Regions from separate parts of the Homo sapiens genome. Here region 1 is linked to region 2. The links are contacts of gene promoters, found by promoter capture Hi-C in human tissues and cell types (Jung and others, 2019). All regions are on one chromosome and are shown on one strand. The core of a region is centred on a gene start or on the middle of the fragment in contact, and the rest is flanking DNA. Distances in the headings are between cores, read along the strand shown. Region 1 has its middle 5.2 kb from the start of MAP3K8. Region 2 holds the start of LYZL2 (lysozyme like 2).

The links. The method cuts DNA at HindIII sites, captures the fragments that hold promoters and counts their contacts. A contact is called where the count stands out against the background at its distance.
Region 1: a contact is called between a fragment that was not itself captured here and the fragment with the promoter of LYZL2 in region 2, in 1 of the 25 tissues and cell types used here (mesenchymal stem cells).

What each region holds. Positions count from the first base shown.
Region 1 is chr10:30,425,280-30,432,657 of GRCh38, forward strand. No RefSeq gene overlaps it. Among named protein-coding and RNA genes, the nearest start is that of MAP3K8, 5.2 kb to the right of the region's middle. RefSeq lists enhancers at 6,325-6,384, 6,892-7,378. The HindIII fragment of the contact is 5,454 bases long and covers 2,649-7,378 here.
Region 2 is chr10:30,624,964-30,632,725 of GRCh38, forward strand. It overlaps LYZL2 (lysozyme like 2), which reads right to left and starts at 4,790. Exons shown (of 5, transcript NM_183058.3): 1 at 4,630-4,790; 2 at 1,814-1,977; 3 at 1,142-1,300. The coding sequence starts at 1,952. The HindIII fragment of the contact is 10,435 bases long and covers 3,050-7,762 here.

The DNA of each region.
Region 1 (7,378 bases), core at 4,126-6,625, 200 kb before region 2:
ATGTGAATGCATTGTAATTTGCATATAATGAGCAGTGAGGACGACTAGAGGTCACTTTTGTCACCATCTTGGTTTTGGTGGATTTTGGTCAGCTTCATTATTGCAACCTATTTTATCAGCAAGGTCTTGTGCCGACCTCCTATCTCATCCTGGAACTTAGAATGCCTAACCTGTGAATGCAGCCCAGTAGGTCTCAGCCTTATTTTACCCAGCTGTATTCAAGATGGAGTCGCTCTTGTTCAAAAGCTTCTGACAACAGGATTAAGAGGTGGGACCTTTAGGAGGTGATCAAGCCATGAGGGCTCTTCCTTTGGGAATAGGATTAAAGCCCTTATAAAAGAGGCTTCAGGGAGCAGTGGCTCCATAGCCCTTTGACAATCCATCATGCAACAAGGCATCATCGTGGAAGGGGAGAGCAGCCCTCACCAGACAACCAAATATGCCCAACCTGCCAGTGCCCTGATCTTGTACTTCCCTGCCTCTAGACCTGTTCTTTATACATTCTCCTCTTTATAAATTACCTAGGCTCAGGTATTTTGTTATAGCAGCACAAAAAGGGACTAAGAAAGGAAAAGTCAAGGAACAAAATGTGTTTAGCTCAGCTTAAAACAAAGTCTCACATGAAGATAAGCACACCACATCCTTTTAAATCCGTTTCCCAAACCATTGCATGGGGAAAACACCATTTCAAAAAGACTAATAAATTATTTTTGAAGGGTATAATATTCTAGTTTTATTTTGTTCATTTTTTTTTATTTGATAGAGTCTTATTCTGTTGCCCAGACTGAAATGCAGTGGTGTAATCTTGGCTCACTGCAACCTCTGCCTCCCAGGTTCAAGCAATTCTCCTGCCTCAGCCTCCCAAGCAGCTGGGATTACAGGTGCACGCCCCCACACCCGGCTAATTTTTATATTTTCAGTAAAGACAGGGTTTCCATGTTGGCCAGGCTGGTCTCAAACTCCTGACCTCAAGTGATCTGCCCGCCCCGGTCTCCCAACGTGCTGGGATTACAGGTATGAGCCACTGCACCTGGTCACGCATGTTCTTTTTTTTTTTTTAAAGACAGAGTCCTGCTCTGTCACCCAAGCTGGAGTGCAGTGGCCTGATCACAGCTCACTGCAGTCTCGACCTCCTCAGCTCAGTCGATCCTCTCACCTCAACCTCTTGATTAGATGGGAGTACAGGTACCCCCACCACATAGGCTAATTAAAAAACGAATTTTTTTTAGAGATGGAGTCTCACTATATCGCCCAGGCTGGTCTCCTGGGCTCAGGTGATTCTCCCAGCTCAGCCTCCCAAACTGTGGGATTACAGGGTGAGCCACCATGCCCAGCCCTTTTTTCTGTTTTTATGCATTTACACTTGCATGTACAGGATGGGGATCAGATTATATATATATATATTTAACCAATTCCTCCCCCTGCCCAAACAATATGTTGACAGCAGTTCCCTCCCTTCACAGGCAGAGCCTTCACTGTGCAGTATTTTCAGGCCCTGCATTGTACTGAGGGGAGACAGGACTGTGAGGTTAATATGTAAAGGAGTGAGAGGAGGCACTTAAGGTTGCATATGGGAAATCTCCACCAACTCAATTGGGGCTACACCATAGCATTTAGCCCTAGGCAGTTTAAGGAGATAGGGAGTTGGAGAGAGCATGATTGCTGAGCCTTTCTCCCCCTTTAAAAGTTTAGCAAGTGAGGCCGGGTGTTGTGGCTCATGCCTGTAATCCTAACACTTTGGGAGGCCGAGGCAGGTGGATCATTTGAGGTCAGGAGTTCGAGACCAACCTGGCCAACTTGGTGAAACCCTGTCTCTACTAAAAATACAAAAAATTAGCCAGGCGTGGTGGCACAGGCCTGTAATCTCAGCTACTCGGGAGGCTGAGGCAGGATAATCGCTTGAACCTTGCAGGGGCAGAGGTTGCAGTGAGCTGAGATCACACCACTGCACTCCAGCCTGAATGACAGAGCAAGGCTCCATCTCAAAAAAAAAAAAAAAAAAAGTGTGGCAAGTGAAAGCTACTGCATGCGCATGAGGACACAGTCTTGCACAGTTCTGGGTGCTAGCAGTCCTATGCCATGTGGTCATTTCGGAAGGCCATGATCAAGAAACCCTGCACAAGGAGTTTCCATTTGGGAGGTGGAACACAGGAGCACAGACCAATAGTTCTGTTTTTAAAGTGCAGTTCGAGAACCTCAAATTTGGGGAAGCCACAACACTAAGTAAGTAATAAAATTCTTAACATTTAGCATACAGAATAATGCTATTTAGGCCCTTTGAGAGACCTACATTTTAGTTTTCTGCACATGAGAACAGATGGTCTTGGTTCATATACAGGCCCAATTTACACCCAGCCTTCAAGATAAACAACAGCCACAGCTGAGTGAATTTAGGAACTCCCCTTCCCTTCCCAGGGTTACCGGGGACTTCTCTCCCCTTCCCCCACGGGAGGACCTCATCTCTGCCTGGGGCCCCATTTCCCTTGCTCAGTTGCTATTTTCACTTTACACAGGAAAGGCAAAAGCTGGTGAGCTACCTCCCAAAGGGGAGGAGAAGGAAAACGGAAGGAGGAGGATGGAGAAGACTGTCCCTTTCAACCTTGTCTGCATTCCTCCCCCATAGTCCTAAGGTGGATGGGAAGGGAAGAGGGTTGTAAGAGCTGAGGGCATAGTCTTGCCTATTGCTGTACCATGAATGCATTATAGATACTCATCTCTATTGCTTAAGGCAGGCAGGTGGGCCTGTGGCTCTAGGGCCTGGTGTCTTTCCAATCTCACCTGGGTTGTCTTAGAGGGCTGCTGGGGGACAGCAGAATCTAATGAAGCACCCTGTGGTCCCCACAGGTCTGATGGATGGCTCTGCTCCACCTCAAGATGCTAAGTGAGGCTGAACAGGTTCTCATGACTGCATGGTCATGAATAGAGGGCCTAGCCTGTGTTAGAGGAAGGAGTTTATGTTTTAGGTATTGGAGCAGATGGCCATAGTCCAAGGAGCAGTCAGTGGCAGAGGTGGGGCATGGGGTGGAGCTGTTCGTTCCCACAGTGGAAAAGGCAACCCTAAATGTCTACCTCCGTTGGATACTTCATTCTTTGGGCCGATGTGCCTTTTCAGTGGTATCCAAGGTAACTGCTCTAAGGATGCATGCATTTTCTGCATGTTACTTTGTCATTTTGAAAATCCCGCCCCTCTTTTTTTTTTTTTTTTTGAGACAGAGTCTCACTCTGTCACTTAGGCTGCAGCACAGTGACATGATCATAGCTCACTGCAGCCTCAACATCCTGGGCTCAAGAAACTGAGGACCAGAGAGACTGATATGGAGAACAGGAGGATTGTTTATTTTAGGTATGCACCAGCTCAGTGGATTCGCATCCAAAAAGCTGAGCATTGAACAAAGACTGAGTGGGGTTTTTATAAGCAAACCTACAAAAGCCAAACAAAAGCAATTAATCATACAGTAACAGGTCACATAATCTATAGCATAACTGTTGACTTAGCATAACTTGTGGCCTTGCCTAGCTAGTGACCTTATAGCTGCGTCAAAAGAAAAATAAGAACTGGCTAAATACAGAGATTTGTAAAACATAATCATGCTTAAGAAACCAGGGAAAGGAGTAACAGTAAAAGAATTTGTCTTTTTCTTCTTTTTTTTTTTTTCCTTCAACCTTTCTCTGGAGGGGGGTGTTGTCTGGAGCCCATTCCTTTGTCCTTGGCTTTCTGGACAGCATTATCTTATAACTCTTCTTGAAGTGAGCTTGCTAGGCAGAGGAAAACTTGAAACTTGTTCTTTTCTTTTTAACCTTTGCCGTGCCTGTTACTTTTCTTACAGTGAATGAATGCATATTTATTTTTAAATTTCTGCCTCATCTCAGCCTTCCGAGTAGCTTGGACTACAGGTGCGTGCCACCATGGCCAGTTAATGTTTTAAATTTTTTTTTTTTTTTTTTTGTAGAGAGAGGATTTTGCCATGTTGCCCAACCTGGTCTTGAACTCCTGGGCTCAAGAAATCCTCCCCTGGCCTCCAAAAGTGCTGGGATTACAGGTGTGAGCCACCATGTCCTGCTTGAAACTCTTAATATAAAAAAAATTGCCAGATGTGGTGGCTCACACCTGTAATCTCAGCACTTTGGGAGGCTGACGTGGGTGGATCACATGAGGTCAGGAGTTTGAGACCAGCCTGGCCAACACGGCAAAACCCCATCTCTACTAAAAATACAAAAATTAGCCTGGCATGGTGGCATGCACCCGTAATCTCAGCTCCTCCGGAGGCTGAGGCAGGAGAATCGCTTGAACCCGGGAGGCAGATCTTGCAGTGAGCTGAGATCGTGCCGCTGCACTCCAGCCTGGGCGACAGAGTGAGACTGTGTCTGGAAAAAAAAAAAAAGAAAGAAAGAAAAGGGAAAAAAAACCAGAAAAACTTTAATTATTTTTATTTTATTTTTTATTTTTGAAATGGAGTTTCACTCTTGTCGCCCAGGCTGAAGTACAATGACACGATCTCAGCTCACTGCAACCTCTGTCTCCCAGGTTCAAGTGAGTCTCCTGCCTCAGCCTCCCAAGTAGCTGGGAGTACAGGCATGAGGCACCACACCCGGCTAATTTTTGTATTTTTAGTAGTGATGGGGTTTCACCATGTTGGTCAGGCTGGTCTCAAGCTCCCGACCTCAGGTGTTCCCACCTGCCTCGCCTCCCAAAGTGTTGGGATTACAGGCATGAGCCACCACACCCGGCCAGAAAAACTTCAATTATATCTGAAATCCACTCACATTATCATAAGAAACTTACACATATCAATGAAAAAAAAAAGAGATACTGAATTTTTAGAATCCAATTTCAAATTGTTCACAATTTAAGACAATAATAATAGTTGTAAATGTATTACCTACGTGTCTGTACAGCTTCTCACCTGAAAGTTATTATCAAAAGTATAAAGAAGTTGTTGTTGAAACTCTTAATCTGTATAGCTGTTTCAACATGAAACCATAAAGAAAAAGTTATGATCATGAAATCAGGCTCAAGTTCCTCTTAACTTTAAAAATATCTCATTTAAAGCTTTATTCAAATTATCTACTTTCAATACTTTGTATTTTATTGTTTTTTTTTAACAAAAAACAACATATTTTCGCCAAGTGACCTATAGCTATGCTCCCAATTTATTGCAGTTATTTTATTCACAAAATTCCATATTTTATGAATATAAAAAACTGAGAAACAATGCCCCATATCATATTAATTAGTCTAGAGCACAATTGTGGTTACATCGGTTAATGGGCCAACAGGGTTACCTACCCATTGTTAATAATTTTCTTTCTGTGAGTAAAATAATTTGGATTTCCAAACTACAAATTACAAACCCATTAATGTCCCAACCTATGAGATGGAGCAAGCTTCTTCAGGTAAACTGCAATCGGTTACAGCCTTATTTGCAAATGCATTTTGCTTGCTTCAAACAGCTTCTAGAGAGCTGTTTCGTAATGTGCTTTAGGATCACTTCCAGAATAACCCCCTATGGTTGTGTGCACTGTGGCTCAAGGGACTTCTCATTGGTAGGTTTAAAACTCACTTAGCTCGCCCCTAGAAGAGCAGGATTGTTTTTGTAAGCCTGCATAAAAAACAAAAAGCCAGACCAGAAAAATGCAAGGAGTCTAGGCAAGGTGGCTCACGCCTGTAATCCCAGTACTTTGGGAGGCTGAGGCGGGCAGATCGCTTGAGCTCAGAAATTTGAGACCAGCCTGGGCAACATGGCAAAACCCCGTCTCTAACGCTACCCAAAATACAAAAATTAGCCGGGTGTGGTGGCATGCGCCTGTAGTTCCAGCTATCTGGGAGGCTGAGGTGGGAGGATCACTTGAGCCAGGGAGGTGGAGGTTGCAGTGAGCTGAGATCGCCCCACTGCAGTCCAGCCAGGGCGACAGATCCAGAACCTGTCTCAAATACATCATACATACATACATACATACATACATACATACATACATACATACAGGGAGTCCACAGACTTTTTCTTTCTTTTCAGTTGCTCTCTCCCTTTTGGCCTCCTTGTTAAAAACTCTACATACGTTTTCAAGTAAAACCTTCTAATTTACCCCAACAGATGAACCTGCTCTGGATTAAGCCAGAAGCAAGAGAGAACCCTGCTAGACCAGCCATTTCACCAGCTCCCTAAAATGCAGCTATATTTGGGAGACTTCTGTGTAGGAAGTAAGGCTAATAATGCAGTTCCCAGAAGATTAGGTGTGGTTTTAATGAGCTCACACAAGGCGGGTGGGGAGGGGAGTGGTTCCATGGTTCTATTTTTAAAACTCGTGTAAAGATCATCCTTTGTTGTCTAAACACGGCAGTAGAGAAAGAGACGTCTCTGTTTCTCACGTTACAATCAGAGGTAACAACCTGTGCTAACCTGGTTTCCAGCGAAAAGGCCAAAAGTGTACTGATAACTTCGGCTTCAGCTGAGACTGGGATAACCCGCTTGAGCCAGTGCCAAATTCCACCCATCCGGCGCGCAAGCGAGCGGGGCTTCTCCTCCCCAACCCCGGCCCAGGCTGCTTCTGCCGGGTCAGTGCTGCCGGGTTGGTGGAAGCTGCCTTCCCTCCCTCCAAGATCAGAAAGGCGGAGGGTTCAGGAAGGGGTTCTCCTCTAGGTGCAAGGGACTGCCTGGATATTTGGAGGGAATGGCAAAGCCCTGCTTCATGAGGTGAATGAATATAAATTAAATCGCTCTCGTATTTAAAATAACTTGACGGATGACAGTGCCCATTCAGTCAATCGGCCCTCGACGTTGGATTTGCTACCTGGGCTTGTTGTCTGCGAGTTAAGGTCCTGCAAAAAGCCCCTGGCTTGTCACCTCAACTAACCTATCTCCTCCAGCAATTCTCTCAATACATCCTCGGGTTGTATTGTAATTCATTTTCCATAGCAGAAATGTGGAGGGCTCTAGAGAAGGTACAAGGCAAATTTTTTTTTTAAATTTTATTTTTGGTTGGCCGCGGTGGCTCACGCCTGTAATCCCAGCCCTTTGGGAGGCTGAGGCGGACGAATCACCTGATATCGGGAGTTTGAGACCAGCCTGACCAACATGGAGAAACCCCATCTCTACTAAAAATACAAAATTAGCCGGGCGTGGTGGCGCATGCCTGTAATCCCAGCTACTCGGGAGGCTGAGGCAGGAGAATCGCTTGAACCAGGGAGGCGGAGGTTGTGGTGAGCCCAGATCGCTCCATTGCACCCCAGCCTGGGCAACAAGAACGAAACTCAGTCTCAAAAATTTTTTTGTTTTATTTTATTTTTTAAATTTGAGACAAGGCCTCGCTCTGTCGCCCAGGCTGGAGTGCCATGGCGCAATCATAGCTCACGGCAGACTCGAACTGCTGGGCTCAAGGG
Region 2 (7,762 bases), core at 3,540-6,039:
AGTCAAGGGGTGTGAGTGGTCCCTAGAAGCCTGGAATGGCCCTTGGGTGACAACCTGCAAGCAACAAGGATCTCAGTTCGACACCCCCAAGGAACTGAACTCTGCCAAAACCCAAATGAGCAAGGACATGGATTTTCCTACAGAGCCTCCAGAAAGGAAAACAGGCCTGTGAGCACCTTGACTTCAGCCCTGTGAATCCGCTGGCACTCTTCCAGCCTAGAGGACTGTAAGGAAATTTTGCGGTGTTTAAGCCACAAGTTTGTGGTAATTTTTTAGGGCAGCATTAGAAACTTAATTCCTTTCTAAGTGAATTCAATGATATTTTAATGACTCGGTATGTTGGACAAGATTCTCTCCTTCTAAGGACTCATGAGATTGGATTGGCTCCACCCACATTGCCCAGGATAATCTCTCTTGCTCAGGCTCAGATCCTTCCTCACATCTGCAAAGTCCCTTTTGCCATGTAAGGTACAAGAGTGAAGTCAGACAGTCACCTTAGGCCAGGAGTTCAAGACCAGCCTGGGAGAGAACCCCATAGCAAGACCCCACAGACAGACTGTCTCTACAAAAAAAAACAAAAATAAAAATAGCTGGGCATATGCCTGTAGTTCCAGCCACCCAGAGGAGGGAAGGTTGCTTGAGTCATGGAGGTCAAGACTGCAATGAGCTATGAACGCACCACTACACTCCAGCCTGGGCAACAGAGTGAGACCCTGTCTCAAAAAAAGAGAAAAGAGAAAGAAACGTAAATTGTATTCATCTCATTCTGCTCAAAGAAGTACAAACTGCATCCTTTGAGTGAATTGCTTATGGAAAGCAGCTGGCAGGCAGCTTCCTTTTTCTTACTGAAGACATCAAATATCTCTATACATGAAAGCACAGTAGGGTTGTTTGTCCATCCCCCTGCTTTAGGGGAGGGCTTCATAAAACTGTCTACAAGGAATAAGTCATCTTTGGACAAGTCAGCCGCAGGATCCTGAGTGTCACCTTGGAAACTGTTGCATAATTTACCAATCTTGAACAGACCTATTTGCAAGTCTGAACTCCAAATTTTAGTTAAAGCAAGACATGGTTGGTGATCCCATTGTCGGCTTTCTCACCTGGTCCTGAGGATGGCATCACTGGAAAGTCAGAGCCTCACCTGAGCAGGCGACGTGGCAGTGGTTGTTCTCCTTCAGCTTTCCGCGTCTGCACCACGCGAAGCTGTTGATCTGGAAGATGCCGTAGTCGATGCTGCCGTCATCCAGGACCGTCTGGGCTGTGGTGTTGTAGCCGCTCTCATAATACGCCATGCAGATCCCTGGAGGGGGGAAAGCCAGAAACGCCAGCAAAGGAGGTGCCATCTTTTGCTCTAAGCTTGGTCTAAGGGCAAGTTTCCTCATCCCTGTTACCTGACTGCTTCCTCCCAATACACCTTGGGCAGGGCAGGGCGGGCATGTGCCCAGGGGGCACACGAGGGGCACATCAGGGGCTGGGATGGCACACCTGAAGCTGCACACCCAGTCAGGGGCTGAGCCTAATCTAGACCAACAGTCAGGTCCCCCCACTCCCCACAATGCCAGCAGAGGTGGCATTATTTTCCCCTTCCCTGGCTAGTGTCATAAGGACAGGACTCCAGGAATAAGGAAATGAGGGGCAGGGGAGGAAGGAGAGGAGACCCAGAGAGCCACAGTTAGGCCAGCAGCCACCCCTGGGTGTGGTGAGGGCAGAGCAGGGGTAGTTGGGGAGACACAGCAGGGAGTGTAGCCAGGACCTTCAACATCTCAGGGGAAAGGTCAAGGACAGAAAGAGAGCAGGAAAGAAATAATCTCACAGTTTCCAAGGCTGAAGCCCCAGTAATTGTCCAGGCCAGCCCTCGAGAATATTTTTGCCAGTTTGCAACGAGTGTAGATTTTGGACTCGGCGCCTGTGACCAGGCAGCCAATGAGGGTCAGAATGCCCGCAGCCTTCATCCTCAAAGCCTGCCGGAGACAGAACCTGCCAAAGAGCCGGAGAACAGGTCAGACGATCTTGATTCAGGAACTTCGAAATCCAGCATCGGTGACTGTGCACAGCCCTGCCTAGATGCTGCCTGTCACTTTGGTCATTCAGTGCCACCATCAGGGAAAACCGGCCACTCTACGGTCCAGGGAAGGAATGTGACTGCAGGCTGTCTCCTTAATGCTTTTCCATACAGTAACTTTCAAGTCAATGCTGTGTTCTCAGGGTTAAGTAAGTGAAAAAATTAACCTTCCTTAATACACATCCAGGTGAAAACCACAAGGGGCATTTTTAGGATTTCTATTTTAATTCTATGAATGAAAAATAGAATACAGGGGTGAAACATTCCCTATACTGCTGACCCTTGAACATCATGGGTTTGAACTGCGTGGGTCCATTTATCCGTGAATTTTCTTCTGCCTCTGCCACCCCGAGACAGCAAGACCAACCCCTCCTCTTCCTCCTCCACCTCAGCCTGCTCAGTGTGAAGACCACCAGGATGAAGCCCTTTATGATGATCCACTTCCACTTAACAAATAGTAAATATAATATAATAGTAAATATTTACTATTAACAAATAGTTAATATTTACAAATAGTAAATATATCTTCTCTTCCTTATGATTTTCTTAATAACATTTTCTTTTCTCTAGCTTACTTTATTGTAAGAATCCAGTATAGACATAGAACGTACAAAATATGTGTTTATTGGCTGTTCATGTTATTGGTAAGGCTTCCAGTCAGCAGTAGGCTATTAGTCGTTAAGCTTCTGGGGAGTCAAAAGTTACATGCAGATTTTCAACTGAGCAGGCATTGGCACCCCGACCCCTACATTTGTTCAAGGATCAACTGGGTGTGTAGAAACAGACACCCCATTTCAGCCAGAGATGAAATACACGTGGACCTGAATGGAAAACTTTAAGATTCATCGTCTAGGCCAGGCGCGGTGGCTCACGCCTGTAATCCCGGCACTTTGGGAGGCCGAGACGGGCGGATCACGAGGTCAGGAGATCAAGACCATCCTGGCTAATGCGGTGAAACCCCGTCTCTACTAAAAATACAAAAAAATTAGCCGGGTGTGGTGGCATGTGTCTGTAGTCCCAGCTGCTCGGGAGGCTGAGGCAGGAGAATGGCGTGAACCCAGGAGGCTGAGCTTGCAGTGAGCGGAGATTGCGCCACTGCACTCCAGCCTGGGCGACAGAGCGAGACTCCGCCTCAAAAAAAAAAAGATTCATCGTTTGGGGGTTTATTGAAGGGTGAAGATTAAGCACCTAATCTTTCCTTTTCTTTTCTTGATGCATTTCAAAATGTGGGAGCATTGCTTCCAAAGTACTAGTGTTTTATCTTAGATTGCAAATGCATTGCTTTGCTAAGCTTCACAACCAGTGCTCCGGGCGGCCTCCTAAAAGTCTGGCACCTGACTGGGGAGCAAGAGGGATGGAGGACAAAGCCTCATGAAAGGAGGAAAGCACCTGGGGGAGCAGAGGGACAATAAAGAGGCCCCCATAGAATCGTCTGAAATGGGAGTAGGATCAAGAGCGCTGTCTCCTGCTGCCTACTGATTTTCCACAATCTCCTCCCCTCTTAAAATAATGTCTTCCCCAAACACAACAGCCTTGCTGGGATGGGGTGAAGTGAAATTTCTGACAACTACTCGGGATCCTGAACTTGATGTTCTTACATATGTTCATCCCGTGTCATTTTCTGCACTTGCCTGGAAACTTCTCTAGTCATTAGTTTCTCTCCCTGGGGCTGGATTCCTGCATTGAAAGGCTAGGCCCAAAACAGGGATAAGTAGTCATCAGCAAGGCCACCGCACCGAGTAACAAGCAGGGCTTTAAGGTGACTAAGCAATAAGATAAGGAACTGCATTGCATGAGGGGCATGTACATTACAAACGTGAATAGCAAGCGTGGGCAAACCAGGCCCGCTTTTGTATGTAAAGTTTTATTGAAACATAGCTACTCTCATCATTTGGTAATATATTGTTGGTGGCTGATTTCCTGCTGCAGTGGCAGAGTTGAGTAGCTGTGTTAGAGGCTGTATAGACCACAAAGCCTAACATATTATTATCTGGCCCTTTTCAGAGAGATCATGCCAGTCCGTGGTGTACAGCATTGTGCTAAGCTGTGAGGGACAGACAAACGAGGTTTAAGATGCAGAGCTTAGGCTGGGCATGGTGGCCCACACCTGTAATCTCAGCACTTTGTGAGGGTGAAAAGGGCAAATTGCTTGAAGCCAGGAGTTTGAGACCAGCCTGGGCAACAAAGGTAGACCTCTGTCACTACAAAATACACAAAAATTAGCCAGGCATAGTGGTGTGTGACTGTGGTCCCACCTGTTTGGGAGGCTGAGGTGGGAGGATCTTTTAAGGCTGGGAGGTTGAGGCTGTTGTGAGTTGTGATTGTGCCACTGCACTCCAGCCTGGGCAACAGAGTGACATCCTGTTTCAAAAAAAAAAAAAAAGATGCAGAGCTTACAAATAAGGTTGGTTTCCATCCTCTGCCTTAGAATGTTAACTGATCTCAAACAAGTCAAAACAAAACCCGTAGCAATGATAACCCCAAGCATCATGTTCTACATCCTTCAAGAACCTGCCATTGCTGGTTCTCAGGGACAGGTGGCTTCATAAGAGTAATTTAGGTCTTACTGAAAAGGCAGATTCCTGGTGCCTGCCGCAGAGGCTGACTTCTCAGTTGAGTCTGCGGAAGAAACACTGCTCCACTTAGTCGGTGACAGGCAGCTCAGGGGAGCGTCCTGCATCCCCTGAAGCCATGTCTGATTCTAACAAGGCTCGAGTAATCCTTTCCTAGCTCAAGAACCTTTCTTTAGAGTGTTAGAGAAAGAAAAATTCTTAGTCCTTTGTTTCTCACCACCTAGAGATGCTAGAATTCTACTTCTTGGCACTAAAAGCTATATCATCCTGCACGCTTGTGTTCTGAAGCAGGTGCTAACTCTCTTCTGGGCCTTAATACCTCTCGTTTTTTCTCTTTTCCTCTCAACAACTGTCCTCACTACACAACTTGGCCAGGGCCTCCCGTCCAAGTGAGAGCTCTTCTCTAAGGCAACAGTCTGCAAACTTTATCACAAATTCCATTAATAAAGTTAAGCATGTATCCTCTTTAGATGTATATTAAATTATAAATCACACTTCTGTACCTCTGTACTAATATGCTACATAAATTATCAACATACACAAAACTAAAATCTGAAAATGAATGAGAGGTGAAATTAACATTAAAAATTAATTAACAGCACATTTCTTTGCTATAGTTATATTGTTAATTAATAAAATATTGTCAAAGGAGGGCCACAAAAGAAATAAAAAATTTTTATGTATAATTAACATGATTTCATTGTTTTTTAAAAATTTGGCTTAACACTTTGTGACTCAATAAAGAGCTAGTTTGAAGGTCCATTTATTTCTGTGTTCAGATTTAATGACACATTTGAAATGAATTCTCATTGGAATATGTAGATCTCAGTATAAGTTTGTTGTTAGTTGTACCTAACTAATTATTGTATTTTATTAAATTCCATCTGCAAATAATGCAAAGATCTTGTTGAAATCTAGTTTTAAGTTTATATAGTATTACATTGTGTAGATATAACATATTTAGCCAATTCCATATTGACTCACACTTAAGGTATTTTTTTCTTCTATGATAAACATATTACAATTAGTAATCTTGTACATTTGTCATTTGTACATTTGCAAGAATATCTGTAGGATACATTCCTGGAAATTGAATTGCTGGGTTAAGGACTGTAATTTTGTAATTTTGCTAGATATTGCCAAATTGCCTTCCACGTGGGCTTGTATGACGAAGATGGCTAGCATACCCTATTACCAAAGGTTAAGATATTTGCTAATATTAGAGATGAAACATAATTTGTCAGCAAAGTTTCAATTTCAGCTTCCCTTATTTCAAGCTGTCTGAGCATCTTTTCTTATCTTCAGAAGCCATTTGTGGACTTTTTTCTCTCTCTCTCTCTCTTTTTTTTTTTTTTTAATTGAGACAGAGTCTCCCTCTGTTGTCCAGGCTGGAGCTCAGTAGTGTGATCTCGGCTCATTGCAACCTCCACCTCGCAGGTTGAAGCGATTCTCGTGCCTCAGCCTCCCGAGTAGCTGGTATTACAGGCATGTGCCCCCACGCCCAGATAATTTTTGTATTTTTAGTAGAGATGGTGTTTCACCATGTCTGCCAGACTGGTCTCAAACTCCTGATCTCAAGCAATCTGCTCGCCTCAACCTCCCAAAGTGCTGAAATTATAGGCATGATCCACGGCATCTGGCCTGTGTGCTTTTTCTTGTGAATTGTCTATAATACGAGAAAATACATAGGTTTTTCTTCAAACATCTTTTTCAAAGTGCTTTGAAATAGGAATTTTATAGTCAATGAGAAAATAGAGACAGATTGTCTTTTTTTTCAAAAATGCTTGTTTAGCAAGTTTTCGGATACATAGTAAATATACAAAAGCCATTTCTATTCTTATATACTAGGAATCAAAATATTTTAGATTCTTCTAAAATAAAAAATATCATTTACAACAGCACACACAAGAATATGACGTACTTAAATGTAAACCTAACAAAATCTGTGCAGGATATATATTCTGACAACTGTAAGACAGATGAAAAACTAAAGAAGACCTAAGTGGAAAAGAAATACCATGTTCCTGAATTTAAAAATTCTATGTTGTTAAGATTTAATCTATAGATTTAATGGAATTCCAATTAAAATCCCAGAAAATTGTTTTGAAAATATCAATAAGATGATCTTAAAACTTATACGGAAGGGCAAATGGACTACAATAAACAAAACTATTCAGAAAAAGAACAAAATTGAAGGACTCATTCTACATGATTTTAAGACAATATAAAGCTGTAGTAATCAAGAGAGAATGATATTGGTGGGAAGATAGACCCATAGACCAGTGGAACAGAAGAGAGAACCCAGAAATAGATCTATGAATATTTAGTCAACAACATTTTTTATAAAGATGCTAATTAAATTCAATGGAAAAATGATGTTCTTTTCACCAAATGGTACTAAAATAAGACTGTCTATGCTCAAAACACATGTTCAAAACCAACAAAATAAAAGAAGGCATATTGAAGAATACATACCTTATATCTCATATAAAAATTAATCTAAAATGGATCAAAGACATAAAAGTAAAAAATGAAACTATGAAATTCTATAAGTAAACATAGAAAATCAGCAGGACTTGGGTTTGGCAATAACATTTTAGACACAACAACAAAAGCACAATCCATGAAAGAAAAAAAAAACGTTTAGTTGGACTTGATCAAAATTAAAAATGTTTGCTCTTTGAAAGACACTGTTAAGAGAATGAAAAGACTAGCTACAGACTGGAAGAAATATTTATAAATCACATGTCTGATGAAAGCCTTGTATTCAGAATATATAAAGAACTCTTAAAATTTTACCATAAGCAAACATATGACCCAATTAAAAAATGGGCAACTGATTTAAGCAGACGCTTCATCATATAAGAAATCCAAATGACAAATAAGCATATGAAAAGATGATCAATATCATTGTCACCAGGGAAGTATAAATTAAAACCACAATTAGATATCACTTCTCACTGATTAGAATTGCTAAAATCAATCAGACGACACCAAATGATGATGAAGACAGAGAACCGTAAGAATTCCCATTTATCACTGGTGGAAATGCAAAGTGGTACAGTCACTTTGGAAAACGGTTTGGCAGTTTCTTATAAAGTTAAACACAGACTTATATAAATCAACA